6 separate regions of the Homo sapiens genome follow, and regions 1, 2, 3, 5 and 6 are each linked to region 4. Evidence: promoter capture Hi-C in human tissues and cell types (Jung and others, 2019). All regions are on one chromosome and are shown on one strand. The core of a region is centred on a gene start or on the middle of the fragment in contact, and the rest is flanking DNA. Distances in the headings are between cores, read along the strand shown.

What was found. The method cuts DNA at HindIII sites, captures the fragments that hold promoters and counts their contacts. A contact is called where the count stands out against the background at its distance.
Region 1: a fragment that was not itself captured here is called in contact with the fragment with the promoter of LONP2 in region 4 in 1 of the 25 tissues and cell types used here (spleen).
Region 2: a fragment that was not itself captured here is called in contact with the fragment with the promoter of LONP2 in region 4 in 2 of the 25 tissues and cell types used here (lymphoblastoid cells and spleen).
Region 3: a contact is called between a fragment that was not itself captured here and the fragment with the promoter of LONP2 in region 4, in 1 of the 25 tissues and cell types used here (spleen).
Region 5: a contact is called between the fragment with the promoter of C16orf78 here and the fragment with the promoter of LONP2 in region 4, in 1 of the 25 tissues and cell types used here (lymphoblastoid cells).
Region 6: a fragment that was not itself captured here is called in contact with the fragment with the promoter of LONP2 in region 4 in 1 of the 25 tissues and cell types used here (spleen).

Annotation. Positions count from the first base shown.
Region 1 is chr16:46,730,645-46,733,955 of GRCh38, reverse strand. MYLK3 (myosin light chain kinase 3) reads left to right here. Exons shown (of 13, transcript NM_182493.3): 4 at 1,288-1,748; 5 at 3,258-3,311. Among named protein-coding and RNA genes, the nearest start is that of MYLK3, 16 kb to the left of the region's middle. The HindIII fragment of the contact is 6,295 bases long and covers 1-3,311 here.
Region 2 is chr16:47,055,251-47,058,780 of GRCh38, reverse strand. No RefSeq gene overlaps it. Among named protein-coding and RNA genes, the nearest start is that of DNAJA2-DT, 83 kb to the right of the region's middle. The HindIII fragment of the contact is 6,804 bases long and covers 1-3,530 here.
Region 3 is chr16:47,093,940-47,097,516 of GRCh38, reverse strand. The region is part of intron 7 of NETO2 (neuropilin and tolloid like 2); the gene reads left to right. Among named protein-coding and RNA genes, the nearest start is that of NETO2, 48 kb to the left of the region's middle. The HindIII fragment of the contact is 5,022 bases long and covers 1-3,577 here.
Region 4 is chr16:48,242,296-48,245,646 of GRCh38, reverse strand. LONP2 (lon peptidase 2, peroxisomal) reads right to left here and starts at 1,347. Exons shown (of 15, transcript NM_031490.5): 1 at 1,026-1,347. The coding sequence starts at 1,258. All of the region lies in intron 1 of ABCC11 (ATP binding cassette subfamily C member 11), which reads left to right. RefSeq lists an enhancer at 1,322-1,411. The HindIII fragment of the contact is 28,002 bases long and covers 1-3,351 here.
Region 5 is chr16:49,371,974-49,375,504 of GRCh38, reverse strand. C16orf78 (chromosome 16 open reading frame 78) reads right to left here and starts at 1,701. Exons shown (of 5, transcript NM_144602.4): 1 at 1,416-1,701. The coding sequence starts at 1,565. LOC105371244 (a long non-coding RNA gene) reads left to right here. Exons shown (of 8, transcript XR_001752167.2): 8 at 575-3,181. RefSeq lists enhancers at 787-1,517, 1,518-2,248. The HindIII fragment of the contact is 5,141 bases long and covers 1-3,531 here.
Region 6 is chr16:46,796,500-46,800,079 of GRCh38, reverse strand. C16orf87 (chromosome 16 open reading frame 87) reads left to right here. Exons shown (of 4, transcript NM_001001436.4): 4 at 1-3,477. Among named protein-coding and RNA genes, the nearest start is that of C16orf87, 33 kb to the left of the region's middle. The HindIII fragment of the contact is 3,265 bases long and covers 1-3,099 here.

The DNA.
Region 1 (3,311 bases), core at 228-2,727, 1.5 Mb after region 4:
CTGCATTTGTGCCTTCCTCTCTTGGTTGACTCTTGGTGCATCTGTAAGGTATCACCGTCCCTGAAGAGAAAAGAGAGAACTGAGGCCAGACTTATCCAAAGCTGTCCAGCAACCTGCTGGCAGAGCTAAGCCCAGAATCGAGGCCACCTGCCTCCCTGCTGAGACTCAGTCCCCGCCAGACACTGTCACCCTCACCCCCTAACACACATAGACCCCGTGCTGTGGGATTGTGGCCCAGCAAAAAGAAGCCCCACCAAGAGGCAGCCAGAGGTGGGGAGACTCGGAGAGAGAGGGTTTGGATTCCCGGGTGACTTGACTGCCAGGATCAGGGTCCTTCCTTCTAGAGGTCGGGGCTCAGAGGGCCTTTCCCACCTCCATCTGGGCTCACAAACCCTAGTATTGCAGAGTCTGGGCAGTGAAAATGAGTGAAGTGAGCTGGGGCATTGCCAGGGTGCGCAGGGCCTGTGCTGAAGTGGAGAGCTGTTCCTCAACCATGTGGGCACGTGGGCCCAGCACAGCCAGCTCTTCTGTTTGTTCAAGATGAACAGAAAGTCTAGTCTTTTATGAGAATTGCCTGATTTTATTTTATTTTAGTTTTTGAGACAGGGTCTCTCACTCTGTCGCCCAGGCTGGAGTGCAGTGGTATGATCATAGCTCACTGTAGCCTCCATCTCCTGGGTTTAAGCAGTCCTCTTGCCTCAGCCTCCTGAGTATCTGGGACCACCACTCCTGGCTAAGTTTTTTAAAATTATTTTTTGTAGAGGTGGGGTCTTGCTATGTTGCCCAGGCTGGTCTCAAACTCCTGGCCTCAAGGGATCCTCCCACCTTGGCCTCCCAAAGCACTGGGATTACAGGTGTGAGCCACTGTGCCCAGCTGGAATTGACTGATTTTAAACAAATACTTCTGATCTGGGGCTTCCAGTGTGACGTTTGAGTTGGTTTCTCCTTATCTTCATTTAAGTGAAAGGGAAACTGGGCCCAGGGGAAGGTAGAGGGACCCGGGCCTCCCGCCTACAGGCCTCAGTTCTCCTGGGACAGAAGCAGGTTCTCAGGGGTGTATGGTCCTCACCCCTGTCCATTCTCAAGCTTCCCAGGACCCTCATCCGGTGGGATCCTGGGAGCTGATGGCACCAACTGTCACTGAAGTCAGCTCCTGCCCTGGTGTCCTGTCTAGCAGGGCCCCAGGGCCATTGTCAATGATGGCAGCAGTGGGCATTGGAACCCACGTCTGTTCTGACTCCAGAGTCCTTGCCTCTAACCTCAGCACCATGTTTCTCTCCACCCCAGGATCTCCATCCACATACAAGAGATGGATACTCCTGGGGAGATGCTGATGACAGGCAGGGGCAGCCTTGGACCCACCCTCACCACAGAGGCTCCAGCAGCTGCCCAGCCAGGCAAGCAGGGCCCACCTGGGACCGGGCGCTGCCTCCAAGCCCCTGGGACTGAGCCCGGAGAACAGACCCCTGAAGGAGCCAGAGAGCTCTCCCCGCTGCAGGAGAGCAGCAGCCCCGGGGGAGTGAAGGCAGAGGAGGAGCAAAGGGCTGGGGCCGAGCCTGGCACGAGACCAAGCTTGGCCAGGAGTGACGACAATGACCACGAGGTTGGGGCCCTGGGCCTGCAGCAGGGCAAAAGCCCAGGGGCGGGAAACCCTGAGCCTGAGCAGGACTGTGCAGCCAGGGCTCCGGTGAGAGCTGAAGCAGTAAGGAGGATGCCCCCAGGCGCCGAGGCTGGCAGCGTGGTTCTGGGTAAGTGGGGCTGTTGCCTGGCTAGACACGAGCCCTGAGGGGAGGGAGTTTGGAGCCCCTACTCCTGGGGAGTCTTCCTGTAGCTTCCAGGGGTAGATCATATGAGTCTGGGGGCGTCCAAGAGTCGGGAACATCTCCAGGTACATCCTGGGGCTGGAGACCAAGGCGCAGAGATGTGGGGCCTGAACTTGGGCTGGCTGCAGGGGTAAGGGAGAGGGGACACGTGTGGCCCACCTGGGTACATTTCCTTTTTTGGAGACAGGGTCTTGCTCTGTTGCCCAGGCTGGAGTCCAGTGGCATGATCATAGTCCCCTGCAGGCTTGACCCAGGTTCAAGTGATCCTCCAGCCTCGGCCTCCCAGAGCTTTGGGATTGCAGGCATAAGCCGCTGTGCCTGGCCACTGGGGAGATTTCTTACCGCCACCTGCCCACCTGAGCTTGCCACCATGAGTCTCATTTTGGATTGAGAGAGAGAAGGCTCTGTTAAAAAGCGAAGACATGAATTGGTGTCTGTGACCACTGTCAGCCATTCCCACCCACCCGGGCTAGTGACCCAGGGTGTGTTCTTATGATCTAAAAGCCCTCAACCCCTCCAGCCCTAGGGTCACACCCTCCTTGGTCTGAGAATTGTCCACGGACCACTGTCGGTGTTCCCGGTAGTTGGAGAGCAGGCAAAGTGCTCCCATGGCGAGCACTGAACAAACGCTAGCCCGAGCCAACTTCCTTCCAGCCCTTGGTGCACAACCGGTTCATACCACTGCACTTGCTGTGTGTTCTAGATTCTGTTTTATTCATTTAGTCTATTTCCTGTAACATTTCTAGGTATTCATATCACCTCTGAAGGACAAGATTAAAATAAAACAACCCTAAACCATTAAAAAACAAACAAACAAGCAAACCTTTCCAAGTGCTGGCCGTCCTCTATTTCCCTTGCCGACAGATCCCCTGTCCACCCCCTCCCCAATCCTGTGCCCCGGGGCCTGCCCCTCTGGCTCCATCACGGGCTGTCATGCTGAGCTTCTGGTTGGGCTCAGCTGGCAGGAGATGGAGGGTGAGAGGAGAGAGGGTGGATGTTTATTTCTCCAGCTGCCTCCCTCTCATAACACCCTCATGAGTTTCCACAGCCCTGACTTTACAGTCCCTTTAAAAATAGTGGCGTCACTAACTGCCCCATCACCTTGTCCACATGGGCCCTCTGTTTCCTGTGGGCCACACAGATCCACTAGGATCACCTTCTAGATGTCATGAACAGACTGGATAGAACTTCTCGGCCTTGCCAAGGGCACTGTCCTGGGTGCCGGGAGACCTGGGTTTGAGTGCTGTCTGTCACGGGCTCCCTTCTCTGCCGAATGGATGGCTCTACTGAGATGGTTTGGAGAAAAGGTTTCAAATACCAGGGCTGTACATAGGGCCTGGTGGACCAAGAGAAGCTAAGTGGGTCTGGCACAGGTGACCGAGAGGTGTGGGCTGCACAGAGGAGGCTCACAGGTCCTTATTGCCTCCTGAGCAGATGACAGTCCGGCCCCACCAGCTCCTTTTGAACACCGGGTAGTGAGCGTCAAGG
Region 2 (3,530 bases), core at 664-3,163, 1.2 Mb after region 4:
GATGAAGCCTCCATAAAAACCCCTGAGCTGCAGGGTTTGGAGAGCTTCCCGGGTGGTGAACACATCCACATGCTGGGAGGACGGCACCCCCCAGCTCCACGGGGACAGACATTCCCGAGCGCAGGACCTTTCCAGACCTCACCCTATGTGCCTCTTCATCTGGATGTTCATCTGTATCTGTTGTAATATCTTTTTTTTTTTTCTTGAGACAAGGTCTCATTCTTTCACCCAGGCTGCAGTGCAGTGGCATGATCACGGCTCACTGCAGCCTCAGCCTCCCCAGGCTCAGATGATCCTCCCACCTAAGCCTCCCAAGTAGCTGAGACTACAGGCGCATGCCAACACGTCTGGCTAATTTTTGTATTTTTTGTAGAGACGGGGTTTCGCCATGTTGCCCAGGCTGGTCTCCAACTCTTGGACTCAAGCAATCCACCCGCCTCAGCCTCCCAAAGCGCTGGGATTACAGGCGTGAGCCACCATGCCCAGCCAATTGTAATATCCTTTATAATAAGCTAGTAATCATGCTTCTCTGAGTTCTGTGAACCATTCTGACAAATGATTGAATCTAAGGAGGGGGTTTTGGGAACCTCTTATCTATAGCCAAGTGGGACAGAAGCGTGGGTAACCTGGGGACCCACGACCTGCAGTTGGTGTCTGACATGGGAAATGGTCTTATGGAATAATGCAGCAGCCCTCCACCTGTGGGAATTGGGTTGAGTTACTGGATGCCCAGTTGGTATCTGCAGAGAATTGGAGAATTGCTTAGTGTGGAAAAACCCACATATTTGGTGCCAGAAGTTCTGTTTGAGCTGTGGAAGAGAATTGGAATTTTCCCTGCACACAGACATTGCTTCAGATGAGGCCACAATAGTTGGCCATACCAGGCCTGAGTAAACGCCAGGAGACAGGAGAGGACATTGCTCTGTGGGACCTACTGGGCCACAGTAGTCCTACTGGGCATGAGCTCACGCCATCTCCTCTGCCAACCTTCCTGCCCTCCGCAGGGCTGCTGAAAACAAGACCTCCAGCTGGCCTTCTTCAAGTCCACAACGTTTCTGACTCATTCCTGGTCAAATCAGGTGGCCTCATCCTCACCCCCAGGACTGTTTCCCAGCCACTGTCTCAGGTCAGTGGATGAGACTCGGGAAGGAGGCCAGGGTCTTTGGGACACCTTCAGTGTCCAGGAAAATGCAGGCTTTAAAAGGAAGTCACCAAGAGATCCCCATTCCCTGTGCTGGGAACCCCATTTGGCAAATACACACAGACACACACATGCACACAGACACACACAGAGACGCACACAGACACACACAGACACACATAGAGACACACACAGACACTCACACAGAGACACACACAGACACACACACACGGATACACACACAGACACAAACAGACACACACACACCCTCTCAGACACACACACACCCTCACAGAGACACACACAGACACACACACACAGATACACACACAGACACAGACACACACACACCCTCTCAGACACACACACACCCTCACACATAGAGACACACACAGACACACACACATGGATACACACAGACACACACACCCCCTCTCACACAGACACACACCCTCACACAGACACACACAGACACATAGACACACACACCCTCTCACACAAACACACACAACACACCCTTACACATAGACACAGAGACACACACAGACACACACACAGACACACCCTCACACATACAGACACAAACAGATACACACACAGACACACACAGATACACACATATACACCCAGCCCCTACCATCGTCACCTTCTCAGAAACTACAATACAATTAGGGCAGCATTCTGGGAATTAGGAAAATTAGATCCTTGGAAAGGGAAATAGCTGTAAGTGATTGAGAGCAATTTTCCTGACAAGAACTCATGGGAGGCAGAGATTTCAGTTAATTCAAAGAAGAAAGCGAGGTCTTCTCTGGGCTGGGGCATCACTGCCAAAGCACCCCCAGTGGCCCCCAAGCAATGAGATTTCCAAACCCCACTGCAGATGCTTCCTTTCCTGAAGAAAGTGAGCTGGGCTCCCAAGGAGTGTGGCAGAGGCTAAGGAGGGAGAAGAATGAAAGAAAGACAGTTACTCCTCCAACTAGAATGAGTGAAAATAAAAACCAATAAAAAGAAAGAGGCAGAGAAAGTTGCTCCTTAAAAAGTCAGCTTCCAGGACAGGCCAAGTAATAAGAAGAGCTGACATTTAGGGGGCAATTGCCCCCAAGCCCCAGCCCCTGTTCTTTTTTTTTTTTTTTTTTTTTTTTTTTTGAGACGGAGTCTTGCTCTGTTGCCAGGCTGGAGTGGAGTGGCGTGATCTCAGCTCACTGCAACCTCCGCCTCCCGGCTTCAAGCAATTCCCCTGCCTCAGCCTCCTGAAGAGCTGGGATTACAGACGCGTGCCACCACGCCTGGCTAATTTTTTGTATTTTAGTAGAGACGGGCTTTCACCATGTTGGCCAGGATGGTCCCGATCTCCTGACCTTGTGATCCGCCCGCCTCTGCCTCCCAAAGTGCTGGAATTACAGGCGTGAGCCACCGCTCCTGGCTGCCAACACCAGCGCCTGTTCTAAGCCCCGTACAATGACCCTGTAGGATAGGTTCTGGCATTTTCCATCCCCATTGTACAGACAAAGGAACTGAGGCTCAGATGGGGCTCAATTACTTGCCCTAGGTCCCCCAGTGAGAGAGAAACTTCTACTGTACTGAATTTTGGAAGCTCTAACAAAGACTTAAGCATGCCCACTTCGCTGGAAGTGCACCATTAGGAACTTAGCCAAAAATTCCACTAAAAGGCAAATTATTGACTCCATTTTCAGCCCTTAAGACCTCTAGGCTGAGGATAGGATGGACGAAGGGCACAAAAGCCAGTGCAACCTGCCTTACCTGGAGATACTGATGGCAGCAGGAAGGCAGAGCGGTGGGCTGCACACTCCATGGAGCCGGTGGGAGCCCCATCCCTTCTGAGCTGGGGCAGTAGCTCCCTGGGTGCCGCTGCAGCTGCCCAAACCGTGGCTGCAGACCCAGACCTCCTGCTCTACGAAGCAGGCAAACGCCCCGCCCTCCTGGGCAGGGTTACAGCCACCCAAACTGCGGCTGTGGATCCAAGACTCGCTGTGCTCTTGAAGGGGGCCCGGGAGCAGGCAGGATCTGCCCTTGCGGGTGCAGCTGCAGTCCCCCAAACTGTGGCTGCAGACCTGGGCCTCCCGCTTCACAGAGCAGGCCGGAGCCGGGGACAAGCGGGAGTCCTGCCCCTTCCAGGTTGGTGGGACAGGAGCTCCTGGATGCAGCTGCGGCCACCCTCCCAGGCACAGGCCCAGTGCATCTCTGCAGCCTGCGTCCTCAAGGCGGCTGGGGAAGACCGCCCAGCCTCCTGTCCCTGCTCCTGCTGCCTGGTTTCTCTCCCGTCCTGGCGCCCACTCCGATACTGGAGCAGGGCTTAGGGCCGAGCCCCAGGGGTCATGAATGGCAGCAGGAGGCAGACAGATTCCTGGGTGGAAGCGGGGGACCCCAG
Region 3 (3,577 bases), core at 266-2,765, 1.1 Mb after region 4:
CTGCTGCCTTTCTTTCAGAGATGCCCTGCCCAGAGAGGAGGAATCTAGAGAGGCAGTCTGGCTACAGCAGCTTTGCTGAGCTGCGGTGGGCTCTGCCCAGTTCAGACTTCCCTGTGGCTTTGTTTACACTGTGAGGGGAAAACCACCTACTCAAGCCTCAGTCATGGCAGATGCCCCTCCCCCTACCAAGCTCAAGCGTCCCAGGTCAACTTCAGACTGCTGTGCTGGCAGTGAGAATTTCTAGCCAGTGCATCTTCGTCTGAAGGGCCCCGTGGGGGTGGGATCTGCTGAACTACACCACTTGGCTCCCTGGTTTCAGCCCCCTTTCCAGGGGAATGAACAGTTCTGTCTCGCTGGCGTTCCAGGCACCACTAGGGTATGAAAAAAAACTTCTGCAGGTAGCTCGGTGTCTGCCCAAATGGCCGCCAGTTTTATGCTTGAAACCCAGGTCCCTGGTGGTGTAGGCACCCGAGGGAATCTCCTGGTCTGCGGGTTGTGAAGACCATGGGAAAAGTGTAGTATCTGGGCCAGAATGCGCCGTTCCCTCATGGCTTCCCTTGGCTAGGGGAGGGAGTTCCCCGACCCCTTGAGCTTCCCAAGTGAGGTGACCCTCCACCCTGCTCCTACTCGTCCTCCGTGGGCTGTACCCACTGTCTAACCAGTCCCAGTGAAATGAGCTGGGTACCTCAGTTAGAAATGCAGAAATCACCTGCCTTCTGCCTTGATCTCATGGGGAGCTGCAGACTGGAACTGTTCCTATTCGGCCATCTTGCCCAGGAATCAACTGATTGGTGTTAATTCTTTACATGTTTAGTAGAATTCACCAGTGAAGCCATGTGATCCAGAGCCTTTCTTTGTTGAGAAGTTCTGGATTCTTTTTTTAATCTCCTTGCTAGTTTTAGGCCTATTCAGATTTTCTTTGGCTTCATTATGCAGTTTTGATTGTGTGTTTCTAGGAATTCATCCATTTCCTCTAGGTTGTCAGTTTGTTGGCATACAGTTGTTCTTAGTATTCACTTATGATTCTTTTTATATACGTCAGATCTGTAGTAATGTCTCCAGTTGCATTTCTGATTTTAATAATTTGAGTCTTTTTGTTCTTAATAATTCTAGCCACAGGTTTGTCAGTCTTGTTGATCTGTCCAAAGAATCAAGTTTTGGGTTTTTGCTCTTTTTCTGTTTTCTATTTTATTTATTGTCACTCAAATCTTTATTATTTTGTTACTTCTGCTAGCTTTGGATTTAGTTTGTCTTCTTTCTCTAGTTCCTTAAGGTATAAAGTTAAACTATTGATCTAAGTTGTTTCTTCTTTTTTAATGTAGGCATTTACAGGTGTAAATTTCCCTTTTACTACTGCTTTTAGTACTCTGCATAAGTTTTGGCATGTTTTGGGTTTCATTTGTCTCAAGGTATCTTATAATTTCCCGTGGATTTCTTTTTTGAAATCACAGCTTTAAAAGTTGTGTAAGAGTGTGTAGTTTAATTTACACAGACTTGTGAATTTTTTCATTTTCCTTCAGTTGTTGATATCTAGTTTCATTCCATTTTGATTTGAAAATAAATTTTATATTTCAGTCATTTAAAATATATTAAGACTTGTTTTGTGGCTGAACATACGTAGTCTATTCTAGAGACTGTCTGATGTGTAATTGAGAAAAATTACATTTTTCTGTTATTGGGTGGAATTTTCTGTATATGTTAGGTCCATTTGGTCTATAGTGGTGTTCAGGTCCTTTATTTTCTTATTGATGTTCTGCCTGGTCATTCTATCCTTTATTGAAAGTGCAATGTTGAAGTCTCCAATTACTATTGTACAAGTGTCTACTTCTCCCATCAGTTCTATCAATGTTTGTTTCATATATTTTAGGGCTCCTTTGTTTTTAGTCCATATATGTTTATAATCGTTATATCTTCTGGGTGAATTGACCCTTTTATCAATATACCGTGTCCTTTTTTATCCAAGACTAGTCTTGCCACCCCCTAGCTGTCTTTTAGCAACTATTTGCATGGAATATCTTTGTCCATCCTTTTACTTTCAACTTTTTTATATCTTTAAAGTGAGTGTCCTACAGGCAGCATATAATTGGATCTTGTTTTTTCCCATCAATTCTGCAATCTCTTCTTTTGATTGGAGAGTTTATTTATGTTTAATTGCTGATGAGGAAGGTTCTGTCACTTTGCTACTTGTTTTCTGTGTGTCTATAGCTTTGTTGTCTCTCATTTCCTCCATTACTGCCTTCTTTTCTTTAATTGATTTTTTTTTGTAGTGACAAGTTTTGATTCCCTTCGCATTTCCTTTTGTGTATATTTTATAGATATGTTCTTATGGTTACTATGGAGATTGTGTTTTTATGAACTGCTTAAGTTTTTAAAAGTTATCTTCACTATTTGGTAAGCATGTGGGAAGTTTTTCTTATTAAAGGTTGTAGCTCATACACAGACAACCACCACAACTTAAAAGTGGAGAAATTTTGAAGACAGATTTTAGGATTCTTCTTTGGGTTCCTAGGCCAGGCACAGCGGCTCATACATGTAATTCCAGCTTTTGTGAGGCCGAGGCGGGTGGATCGCTTGAGCTCAGGAGTTTGAGACCAGCCTGCCTAGCCAACATGGTGAAACCCCATCTCTACTAACAATACAAAAATTAGCTGGGCGTGGTGGTATGCACCACTCAGGAGACTGAGATGGGAGGATCACTTGAACCCAGGAGGCAGAGGTTGGAGTGAGCTAAGATTGCACCACTGCACTCCAGCCTGGGTGACAGAGCAAGACCCCGTCTCAAAAAATAAATGGCCAGGCGCGGTGGCTCATGCCTGTAATCCCAGCACTTTGGGAGGCCAAGGCGGGCAGATCATGAGGTCAACAAGATTGAGACCATCCTGGCTAACACGGTGAAACCCTGTCTCTACTAAAGATACAAAAAATTAGCCGGGCATGGTGGCGGGCGCCTGTAGTCCCAGCTACTCGATAGGCTGGGGCAGGAGAATGGCGTGAACCCGGGAGGCGGAGCTTGCAGTGAGCCAACATTGCACCACTGCACTCCAGCCTGGGTGACAGAGTAAGACTCCGTCTCTAAATAAATAAATAAATAAATAAATAAGTAAATAAATAAAACAAACCTTCCTTTAGGTTCCTGAAAAATCAAGTGAATACATTCCCACCAGGAAAAACTGTTTCTGTTATATTTCTTTGCTTTTCTATCTCCTTAAACTCCTCAGCCAATTAGCTAAGGATTAAAAAAAAAAAAAAAAAATCCAAGTGATATATCAGTACTTCCTAATTTTTTTTTATTTTGCTTATCATAAGTGCAGATCATATTACCAGTAGCTTTGGCAAAATCTGCTTTCCAAAATACCATCATTTTTTTACTTGAATTTGAATGGCCCTTAACTTTAATCTACATTTGGGCAGGGCTGGTTAGCCTCTTCCAACTGTTTCCTCAGATTCATCTCCTGTATGAAGAATAATACCATTTTAAGACACATCTGAACTGCCCAGATATAGTTGAGTTTGTATGTTCACATCACATATATTTTAAAATTATAAGTGGTATATCTTATCTATTGTCATGAAAAGA
Region 4 (3,351 bases), core at 98-2,597:
CAGCACATTTAGGGTGACCAACCTCCTGGTTTCCCTGGGACGGAGGGGCTAAAACATAGGACTTTCAATGCTAAAACAGACAATCGCAGCAAACCAGGACAACTGGCAATTCTATCATCTCAATTTGACGAGCCACATGCACTACACAGTACTGGACAGCAAAGTCATCCATCATGCATGGTGCAAAGTGGAATATACACATTATTCAATTTATTCTTCATAACTTGCCTAAGAGATGGATGCTGTCAGTTTCCAAATTGCAGAATAAAAGAAATAGAGGTTAAAGCTCTCACCCAAAGTCACACCAATAGGGCGAGGGTACTGGGCAATATAGTAGTAAGCCTGGGGCCTAAGAAATGTTATGAGTGAAGGAGCAGAGGTGAGAAGCTAGGAAAGTTCCAGAAAGGGGGACCAGCGAAAATGTGAGCAGTAAAGGCCCTTTACAAAGGGAAACAGAAGGATTAGGGGGAGAAGGAGAAGGGTGGCAGGGAGTATAGAAGAAAGGCACCCACAAATAGTGCAGTTTAGGAATGAAACAGGAAAAGTTAAAACTCACGGAGCAGAGAATGCCTCAGCGGACAAAAATGATGGGTGACAGAAAAGGGGAGGCGGATAGGAGTAAAGGGCAGTGGGGAGAAAGGTGAAAAGCGAAGGCAAGTGAAGGCAGAGATCACCGGGGAGAAAGAAAGGGCCTGGAAAGTTAAAAGCACTGGCCTAGGAGGCTGAAGACCGAGGGCGAGGAATTGCGGAGAGGGGGAAGAGGATTCAAATTAAATTATCCAGAACGGTAGGGAACTGCGTAGTTTCACCAGGTGTCAGGCACTACTTCATGAACGATCTCATTCATGGTCATGGGGCAGGTATCTGACATCCCCATTTTGCAAGTGATAGCACCAGAGAGGCGGAACCGAGCCGCGAAGGCCGCCCCGAACTGAGCCTCGCGCTCAAGGCAGGCCGTGGCCTGGGCCCAGGTCCCCGGAGGAGGCCGCGCCGCCCGCCGCCGCCGCGGGGGCAGCCAGGCCTACCTGTGCAGCGGCGGCAGGTCCTGCGCGTCGCTGGCGGGGTCAGGCGTGTTGGGGATGACGCCCAGGATGGTGCTTTGCAGCGACGTGCCCTTCAGAAGGCGGCTCCGCACCAGCTGCAGGTTGCGGGCCGAGTCCACGCTGGTGCGCATGGTGGAGCCGGGCAGCAGGACGCCCTCGTGGGTGAGCAGCAGCGGGAGGCGACTGGGGATCTGGATGGGGCTCACTGATGACATGCTGGCAGCCTTTCGCACTGGGGGCTGTCAAAAAGAGCCAGACAGACAGCTGCCCCCGGCCTGCCCCGCAGTCACCAAACCTCAGACCCGCCTCCACGCCTCCGCTTCCGGCTACGCGCTACGGTCCGTCCCCGGGCCCAAAAGCCATGGCTTCGCGCTGCTCTCTAGGAGAGCCTCCCGGTAAGACTTGAGCGTCCTACCTATGCGGAAAGACGTGCACTCAAGCGTGCAGCGACCTTCGCCTCACTTACAGAGTATATTTGGAAGGATGATCTTATTTGAATTGTATATACTTGAAGTGTTTTTAACGTTTTCTTCGATTTTTTACATATACTTGAAGTGTTTTTAACTTTTGATTCGAACTAATTATTTATTTATTTATTTATTTATTTATTCTGAGACAGATTCTCGCTCTGTCGCGGAGGCTGGAGTGCAATGGCGCGATACCCACGGCTTGCAGCCTCTGCCTCCCGGGTTCAAGCGATTCTCCTGCCTCAGCCTCCCGAGTAGCTGGGATTACAGATGCCCGCCACCACACCCAGCTAATTGTTGTATTTTTAGTAGGGAGGGGATTTCACCATGTTGGCCAGGCTGGTCTTTAACTCCTGACCTCAAGCGATCCGTCCACCTCGGCCTCCCAAAGTGCTGGGATTACAGGCGTGAGCCAACGTGCCCGGCCCGAATTGATTTTAGATGTACAAAACTACAGCAGAGTTCCTATATACCTTTCACCCAGTTTCGTCTGTTATCATCTTACATAATCATAGTTCAATGATCAAAACCAGGAAATTAACATTATTATCGTTTAACCTATAGGCCTTACCCAAATTTTGCCAGTTTTCCCACTAATGTCCTTCATTGGATCTGGTCCAGGATCCAATATCCAGGATCCTGTTGTGAAATCTCCTAGGTGTTTTGTTATGAAATCTCCTAGGTGTTCTCTAATCTGTGGCAAGTCCTCAATTTTTTTTTTTTTTTTTTTTTTTTGAGACGGAGTCTCGCTCTGTCACCCAGGCTGGAGTGTAGTGGCGAGATCTCGGCTCACTGCAAGCTCCGCCTCCCGGGTTCATGCCATTCTCCTGCTTCAGCCTCCCGAGTAGCTGGGGACTACAGGCACCCGCAACCACGCCCGGCTAATTTTTTGTATTTTTAGTAGAGACGGGGTTTCGCCATGTTAGCCAGGATGGTCTCAATCTCCTGACCTCGTGATCTGCCCGCCTTGGCCTCCCAAAAGTGCTGGGATTACAGGCCTGAGCCACTGCGCCCGTCCAATTTTTTTTTTTTTTACAACCTTGATACTTTTATTTTTTTTCTGTTTTTAATTTAATTTTATTTTTTATTATAGTTTAAGTTCTAGGGTACATGTGCACAACGTACAGGTTTGTTACATATGTATACATGTGCCATGTTGGTTTGCTGCACTCACTAACTCGTCATTTACATTAGGTATATCTCCTAATGGTATCCCTTCCCCCCCACTCCCCACCACCCAACGACAGGCCCCTGAGTGTGATGTTCCCCACCCTGTGTCCAAGTGTTCTCATTGTTCAGTTGCCACCTATGAGTGAGAACTTGCAGTGTTTTGTTTTCGGTCTTTGCGATAGTTTGCTCAGAATGATGGTTTCCAGCATCATCCATGTCCCTACAAAGGACATGAACTCATCCTTTTTTATGGCTGCATAGTATTCCATGGTGTATATGTGCCACATTTTCTTAATCCAGTCTATCATTGATGGACATTTGGGTTGGTTCCAAGTCTTTGCTATTGCGAATAGTGCCGCAGTAAGCATACGTGTGTGTGTGTCTTTATAGCAGCATGATTTATAATCCTTTGGGTATATACCCAGCAATGGGATGGCTGGGTCAAATGGTATTTCTAGTTCCAGATCCTTGAGGAATTGCCACACTGTCTTCCACAATGGTTGAACTAGTTTACAGTCCCACCAACAGTGTAAAAGTGTTCCTATTTCTCCACATCCTCTCCAGCACCTGTTGTTTCCTGACTTTTTAATGATTGCCATTCTAACTGGTGTGAGATGGTATCTCATTGTGGTTTTGATTTGCATTTCTCTGATGGCCACTGATGATGAGCA
Region 5 (3,531 bases), core at 452-2,951, 1.1 Mb before region 4:
AAAGTGTGTGTGGCACCTCGTCCTCCCACTTCTTGCTCTTGCCATGTGAAGTGCCTGCTCCTCTTTTGCCTTCTGCCATGATTGTAAGCTTCCTGAGACCTCCCCAGAAGTGGAATCTCCTATGCTTCTTGTACAGCCATGAGCCAATTAAACATTTTTTTTTATTTTTTTTTTAAATAAATGACCCAGTCTCAGGTATTTCTTTGTAGCAGTATGAGAATGGACTAATACAGTAAGTAAGCACACAAACATAATGGAAGCTTTCCCCAAAGGCAGGTGCTGACCTGGATAAAGCAGAGGAGTCTATGCATTTGGGAATTGGAAAACCTCAGTTTGAGCCCTGGCTCTGCCCTTTATTACTTCTGTGACTTCAATAAAATGACTTATTTTCACTTTCCTTATCCTTCAACTAGGGGTAAAAATGGTGCCTCCCTGGTAGCCTGACTGGGAGCAATTGACCACATAACCCAGGTACAAATCTAAGCACAGGGCCTTGACCACAGTAAACATTAAAAGTTAGTGATGTGTTGAGCATTGTTATTAGTAATGGCATTTTTTACTCATTTTGCTCTAGGGTCAGGAGATTCAAGACCAGGTGGCATCTTCTGCAGAGGACACCACTTTCCAAAGACATGGCTTGGTTCTTCATAGATGATAGGTCTTGGGGGAGCTCTGGGAAAAACTAAGGCAAACTTGGTTGCTACATTTCTTGGAGAAAGAGGAAAGGGTGGGTTAGAACTAGCTCGATGTAGGGTAGAAAAGAGGAGGTATGTTAGCTGGAGTTGCAGTTGCAGTAATGGCAGTGAGGAATGAATGTTCTTTGATTCTGAAGGCATCACAAGGAGAGAAGAGCTGAGGGCAGTAGGAGGATCCCATCCTGCAATATGGAGACCCAGAAGCCACTGCCCCTTGGCCCTTCTAGAATTCTGACCAATACTAACATTTGCCCAGCTTGACTAAACTTTAGACAGGTTTCTTCCTGATGATAGGCCCTTGGCCTCCTTTTCCTTAGAGCATTTCCTCTAGAAAACTTGGATTTGTAAATTTTTTCTCTGCCCCTTTGAGATGTAAATCTCTCAGTCTCTTGCTAGTTTTACAATCCAGGAATGTTTTTCTCAAGGACCTGGGAGGACCCTTTGAAATGTAATCATCAAGAAAGATTGTACCTTGTCTCTCAGTCTCTGTGAGAGGATGGGAGCCTAACATTTATAAGTGCGAATTAGCAACACAGACAGCCTAATCATATTAACTAATTCCCCCACCCCCTTAATGTCCTTGGGTAGTTCTCACTAGCTTATCCCAGCACTTCAAAACCATCCCGCCTTTTGTTTCAGGAGAGTTAAGTTCAATCTCTCTCCCCTACTGCAACTACCTTGAGTAAAGTCTTCCTGCCATTTCTCTTGGATGGTACCCACCTCGGGAGCTTGTTTCTTCTTCCCCTGCCTCCGCTCCAGCCACTCCAGCACACAGGTGAGGTCAGACATGCGCCTATCTTCAGCAGTCTTCCACATGTATTTCCTCTTTGTGGGCATTAAATCCTTCAGGTCCATTTGTTGCTCTGACATTGTGGAGTCTTGCTAGTGGCTTGGGTGGGAGGTGGCTGGCACTGTCTCACTCTTTCGATCCCTTTGTCTGGACTTGATGGCCTGGTGACTTAGAAGGTAGGGTGTGGCCTCCAGATGTGAACATAAAGGGCAGAGTGAGCCAAGACCCTGGGATATTGGCCTTAAAAGGTGGAAGGCCTGGGCAGTGATTGTGAAGTCATTGCCCGTCTTGGTAGCTGGCCCTGAGGTCAGAGTGGAGGTGGGACATTGGCCACCTCCCACTGTTCTCCATGTGGCCACTACCCCTCTTCAGGCGCTATGTCTCCTCTGGACTCTGCCACAGCCTCCTTGCAGCCTCTCCACCTCTACCTCCACAGAGATCTTAATAAAATAAAGGTCTGTCCACGCATCTTCCTTTCTCAAAAACCTTCAATGGCTCCTTGTTGCCTATCTAAAAGAAATCTGAATTCTTTAGTTTGGCATCCTATCTTTCTGTAGTGTACTCTAATTAGAAGAAAGCTTTTTATAAGCCCAATTCGTCTATATTCATTTATTCATCCAACATGTGGTTATCAGGCACCTACTAAGTATTGGGAATGGTGCTGGGGATACAATGCAGGAAAAAAACATAGGCAAACCTCCTAAGACATATGGGCTAGTGGAAAAGACAGGGCAGATAATTACCGTATGAATTCATAATGACAAGTGAAGATGAGTGCTTTCAAAGAAAGGAATGTAGTTCTATGAAAGGCCATATCAATGGTACTAGACTTGGATGGGGTGGTGGGTAGGCCACCTTTGAGCTCTGAGCTAAAGGATAAATAGACTTCAACAGGGCTGTTATGGTCTGGACATTTCTGTCCCTCCAAAATTCATGTGCTGAAATCCTAACCCCCAAGGTGATGGCATTAAAAGGTGGGGTCTTGGGAGGTAATTAGGTCATGAGAGCAGTTCTCTCATGATTGGAATTGGTGCCCTTGCAGAAGAGACTAGAGAGAGCTCCACCATGTGAAGATGTAGTGAGAAGGTGTCACCAGGAAATGGGTTCAGCAGACAACGGAATCTGTCAGAGCCTTAATTTTGGATTTCCTAGGCTTCAAAAATGTGATAAATGAATGTTTGTTGTTTATAAGCTACCCACTTTGTGGTATTTTGTCATAGGCCCAAATGGATTAAGATAAGGGCTTTGGACCAGAGAAATATGCCTGTGCAAAGGCCCTGTGACAAGCGGGAGGCATGGCACTAACAACAGAAGGCAAGGGTGACTAGAGTACCAGAGGCAAAGAGGCAATGGTACAGAGGTGGCCAGAGGCCAGGCCATCCAGGAACTTGGTAGCCACAGGTTCTGCTCAGACTGGGAAGGGAAAGGGAGCAAAGGAAAACAATAAAGGAATTCAAAAAAAGGGGAGGGAGTGGCATGGTCAGGCTTCCCTTTTTTGCTCTAGTAAACTTCTATTGAAGGAAATTATATATACAAAAATGTGCCAGAATCACAAATGAAGACATCTATGTAACCAGTACCCCAGAATCTTCCATACAGCCCCTGGTAGTTATTACCACCCTCCAAGGGTAAACATCATCTTATCATCCAATTTCTTTTTTTTTTTTTTTGAGACAGAGTCTCGCTCTGTCACCCAGGCTAGAGTCGGCTTACTGCAACCTCCGTCCCCCAGGTTCAAGCGATTCTCCTGCCTCAGCCTCCTGAGTAGCTGGGATTACAGGCGCACTGTAATTTTTGTATTTTTAGTAGAGACGGGGTTTCACCATGTTGGCCAGGCTGGTCTTGAACTCCTGACCTCGTGATCCACCTGTCTCGGCCTCACAAAGTGCTGGGATTACAGGCGTGAGCCACCGTGTCCGGCCTTATTATCCAATATCAAACTTTTTCTTCCTGTTATTGAGTTAAATATAAACCAAATAATATGCATGTGATATTTTACATCTGGATTTATTAATTTTGCAATATATTTGTAAGATTTTAGAAATA
Region 6 (3,580 bases), core at 218-2,717, 1.4 Mb after region 4:
TAGTAATTGCACTTGATTCTCTAATTCTGATCATTAAAATGACTTGGCAATATTTAATTTTGGCTTGCCTTTCAATCTGCATGTTTGTCTTAAATTTAGAAAAATTAAGCTCTTTACTTACTTTTATATAAAGTATTAATTGGCCAGGCATGGTGGCTTACACCTGTAATCCCAACACTTTGGGAGGCCAAGGCAGGAGAGTTGTTTGAAGCCAGGAGTTTGAGACCAGCCTGGGCAACATGATGAGACCGCGTCTCTACAAAAAGTAAAATTAGCTGGGTGTGGTGCTTCCAGCTACTAGGCAGCTGAGGCTAAAGGATCACTTGAGCCCAGGAGTTCGAGGCTGCAGTGAGTGATGATCTTGCCACTGCACTCCAGCCTGGGAGGCAGAGCAAGAAACACCCTGTGTGAAAAAAGTATTGAATTTGTTTGATTCCACTTTCAAAATATGCTCTAGATACAGGTAGTCATTCTGCCAAATTGTGTTCTTCTCTAAAACATTTTGTCCGTCATTCTTTGAAACTCATTCTTAATTATTTCCACTTTACCTTCTAGTTTGGTTTGATGCCTTATATTCTTGCTAGTTAAAAGCATTTTTTCCCTAGTATTTTCTGTCTTTCTAGCCTTTAAGGCATATTGTTGTTAACAAATCTCTTATTTAAGTTAATTAAAGTTTTTTCTGTGCAGCTGGGTTTTTTCTTTTACTACATGACAAGCTTCATTTTTACATTTGGAAGTACATGTATATATGTTTATATATTTTTATTCTCAGGATCTATTTTCTAGGGAACTATTTTTTTAAATTATTCTTTTGTGCTGCCTTAACCCATTTATTATAGTTTGAATATTAGTAGTACTTACTACTCAAAGATTACAACTATACTAATAACTATCCTAACATACAAAGCAGACTCTCCAGGATTAAAAGTATGAGACATATAACAGAGTCTGGAATAGAATAATTCTTTTTACCCCAGTCAAGTATTTGCCTTTTGCATTATTAAGGAATCTGTTTTGTTCTTTTATTGATAATTTCTATATTTTTTTCTTTGCCTTATTGCACTGGTTGGGACTTTTTGCCTTGATCCAGTTGTAGGGGGGAAACATTCAGTCATTAAGCATTAAATAACTTTGTTGTTGTTGTGGGCTTGAAAAAATACCCTTTAGTAGATTGAGGGTAGACTCTTTTATTTCTGCTTGTTGGAAGTTTTCTGTCAGGAACAGATGTTGAATTTTGTCAGATGCTTTTTCTGCATAATTGATAGGACCTTTTTTCTCCCCTTTAGAATGTTCATATGGTGAAACATACTGATAGCTTTTCTTTTCTTTTTTTTTTGACACGGAGTCTCACTCTGTCACCCAGGCTGGAGTGCAATGGTGCGATCTTGGCTCACTGCACCCTCTGCCTCTTGGGTTCAAGCTTCCCTCACCAGCCTCCCAAGTACCTGGGTATACAGGTGTGCATCACCATGCCCGGCTAATTTTTGAATTTTTAGTAGAGATAGGTTTTTACCATGTTGGCCAGGCTGGTCTTCAACTCCTGACTCAGCCTCCCAAAGTGTTGGGATTACAGTCTCGCTCTGTCGCCCAGGCTGGAGGGCAGTGGTGTGATCTTGGCTCAATGCAACCTTGCAACCTCTGCCTCCCGAGTTCAAGCGATTCTCCTGCCTTAGCCTCCTGAGTAGCTGGAATTACAGGCGCACGCCACTACACCCAGCTTCTTTTTGTATTTTTAGTAGAGATGGAGTTTCACCATGTTGGCCAAGCTGGTCTCGAACTCCTGAGCTCCGGTGATCCACCCGCCTTTACAGGCATGAGCCACCGTGCCCGGCTGCATTTCTCTTTTGTAAGAACCTGCTCTGGTTTATTGATATTTTGCTGTTTTTCTGTTTTAAGTTTCATTAATTTCTGATCTTTAGTATTTTCTCCTTTCTTTGCTTTGGGCTTATTTGCTCCCTTTTCTAGCTTATTGTGGCGGAAGCTCAGATCATTGATTTTAAAATTTACTTATTTATTTATTTATTTATTTAATTCAACACTGATCAGAAGGCTTTTTGTGCTTTTCTAAAAAAAGCATTTAATGCTATAAATTTCCCATTTGCTTTATCTCACAAATTTTATTGTGTTGTAATTTTGTGTTCAATTTAGAATATTCTGATTTTTCTTGGTATTACTATAATTTTCAAATATTTAGAGTTTTTTTCAGTTATCTTTCTGTTACTGATTGTAATTTATTGTTTTTTAAAATTATAGTTCTTTGAATAGTTTTGCAGTATTTGCTCTAGGGATTACTATAAACATACTTCACTTTTTACAGTTCACTTAGAAGTCAATATTTTACCAGTTCAAGTGGAATGTAGAAAAATCTTACCACTGTTTACATTCCTTTACCCTCTCCCCTTTATGTTATAATTTTCTTATAAATCATAAGACTTGGCTGGGCACAGTGGCTCACCTGTAATCCCAGGACTGGGAGGCCGAGGCGAGCAGATTGCTTAAGTCCAGGAGTTCGAGACCAGCCTGGACAATGTGGTGAAACCCCAACTCTACAAAAAATACACAAAATTAGCTAGGCGTGGTAGCATGTTCCTGTAGTCCCAGCTACTCAGGAGGCTGAAGTGGGAGGATTACTTGAGCCCAGGAGGCAGAGGTTGCAGTGAGCCAAGATCACTCCACTCCACTCCAGCCTGAGTGACAGAGCTAGACACTGTGTCTCAAAAAATAAAAATAAAAAATAAGACTCATCAGATAATGTATTTTTTCCTTACAACTATCATAGATATTTTTAAGAACCCAAGAGGAAAACAGTCTATCACATTTACCACAATATTTATCATTTGTATTAATCTTCCTTAATTCTTGATGTTCCAAGTTTACATAGGTATCAGTCCTTTTCATCTGGAAAATTTCTTTTAGTGCAGGTCTGTTGACATTTAATTCTCTTATTTTTTCTTCATCTGAGAATGTCTTTATTTTGCCTTAATTCATGAAAGATATTTTTGCTGGATATAAACTACTGTGTTGACAGTTCTTTCAGCCTCCATGGTTTCTGATGAGAAATGTGCAGCCATTAAAGTAATATTTCCCCTGTATGAAACATGTTATTTTTCTCTGAGTATTTTCAGGAATCTTTGTCTTTGGTTTTTATTGGTTTGATTATGATGTGCCCGGGTGTTTGAATTTATTCTCTTTGGGATTTGTTGAGCTTAAATGTGTAAGTTTATGCCTTTCATCAGATTATGTAAAGTTTTAAACCATTCAGATATTTTCTGCTCTACTTTCTCCTCCCTCTTAGGCTCCAGTGATGCAAGTGTTAGACTCTTTGGTATTATCTCACAGATCTCAGAACCTCTGTTCATTTATTTTATTTTAATAAATCATTTCAGTTAACAAAATCATATATTGTATGCAGCATGATGTTTCAATATGTATGTTCACATTGTAGGATGTCTAAAGTAAAGATAATGAACATATGCATTATCATGTATACTTACCATTTTTTTTGTGGCTGCAACAATTCTCTTGGCAATTTTCAAGTATACAATATGTTATTAACTATAGTCGTTATGCTGTATAATTG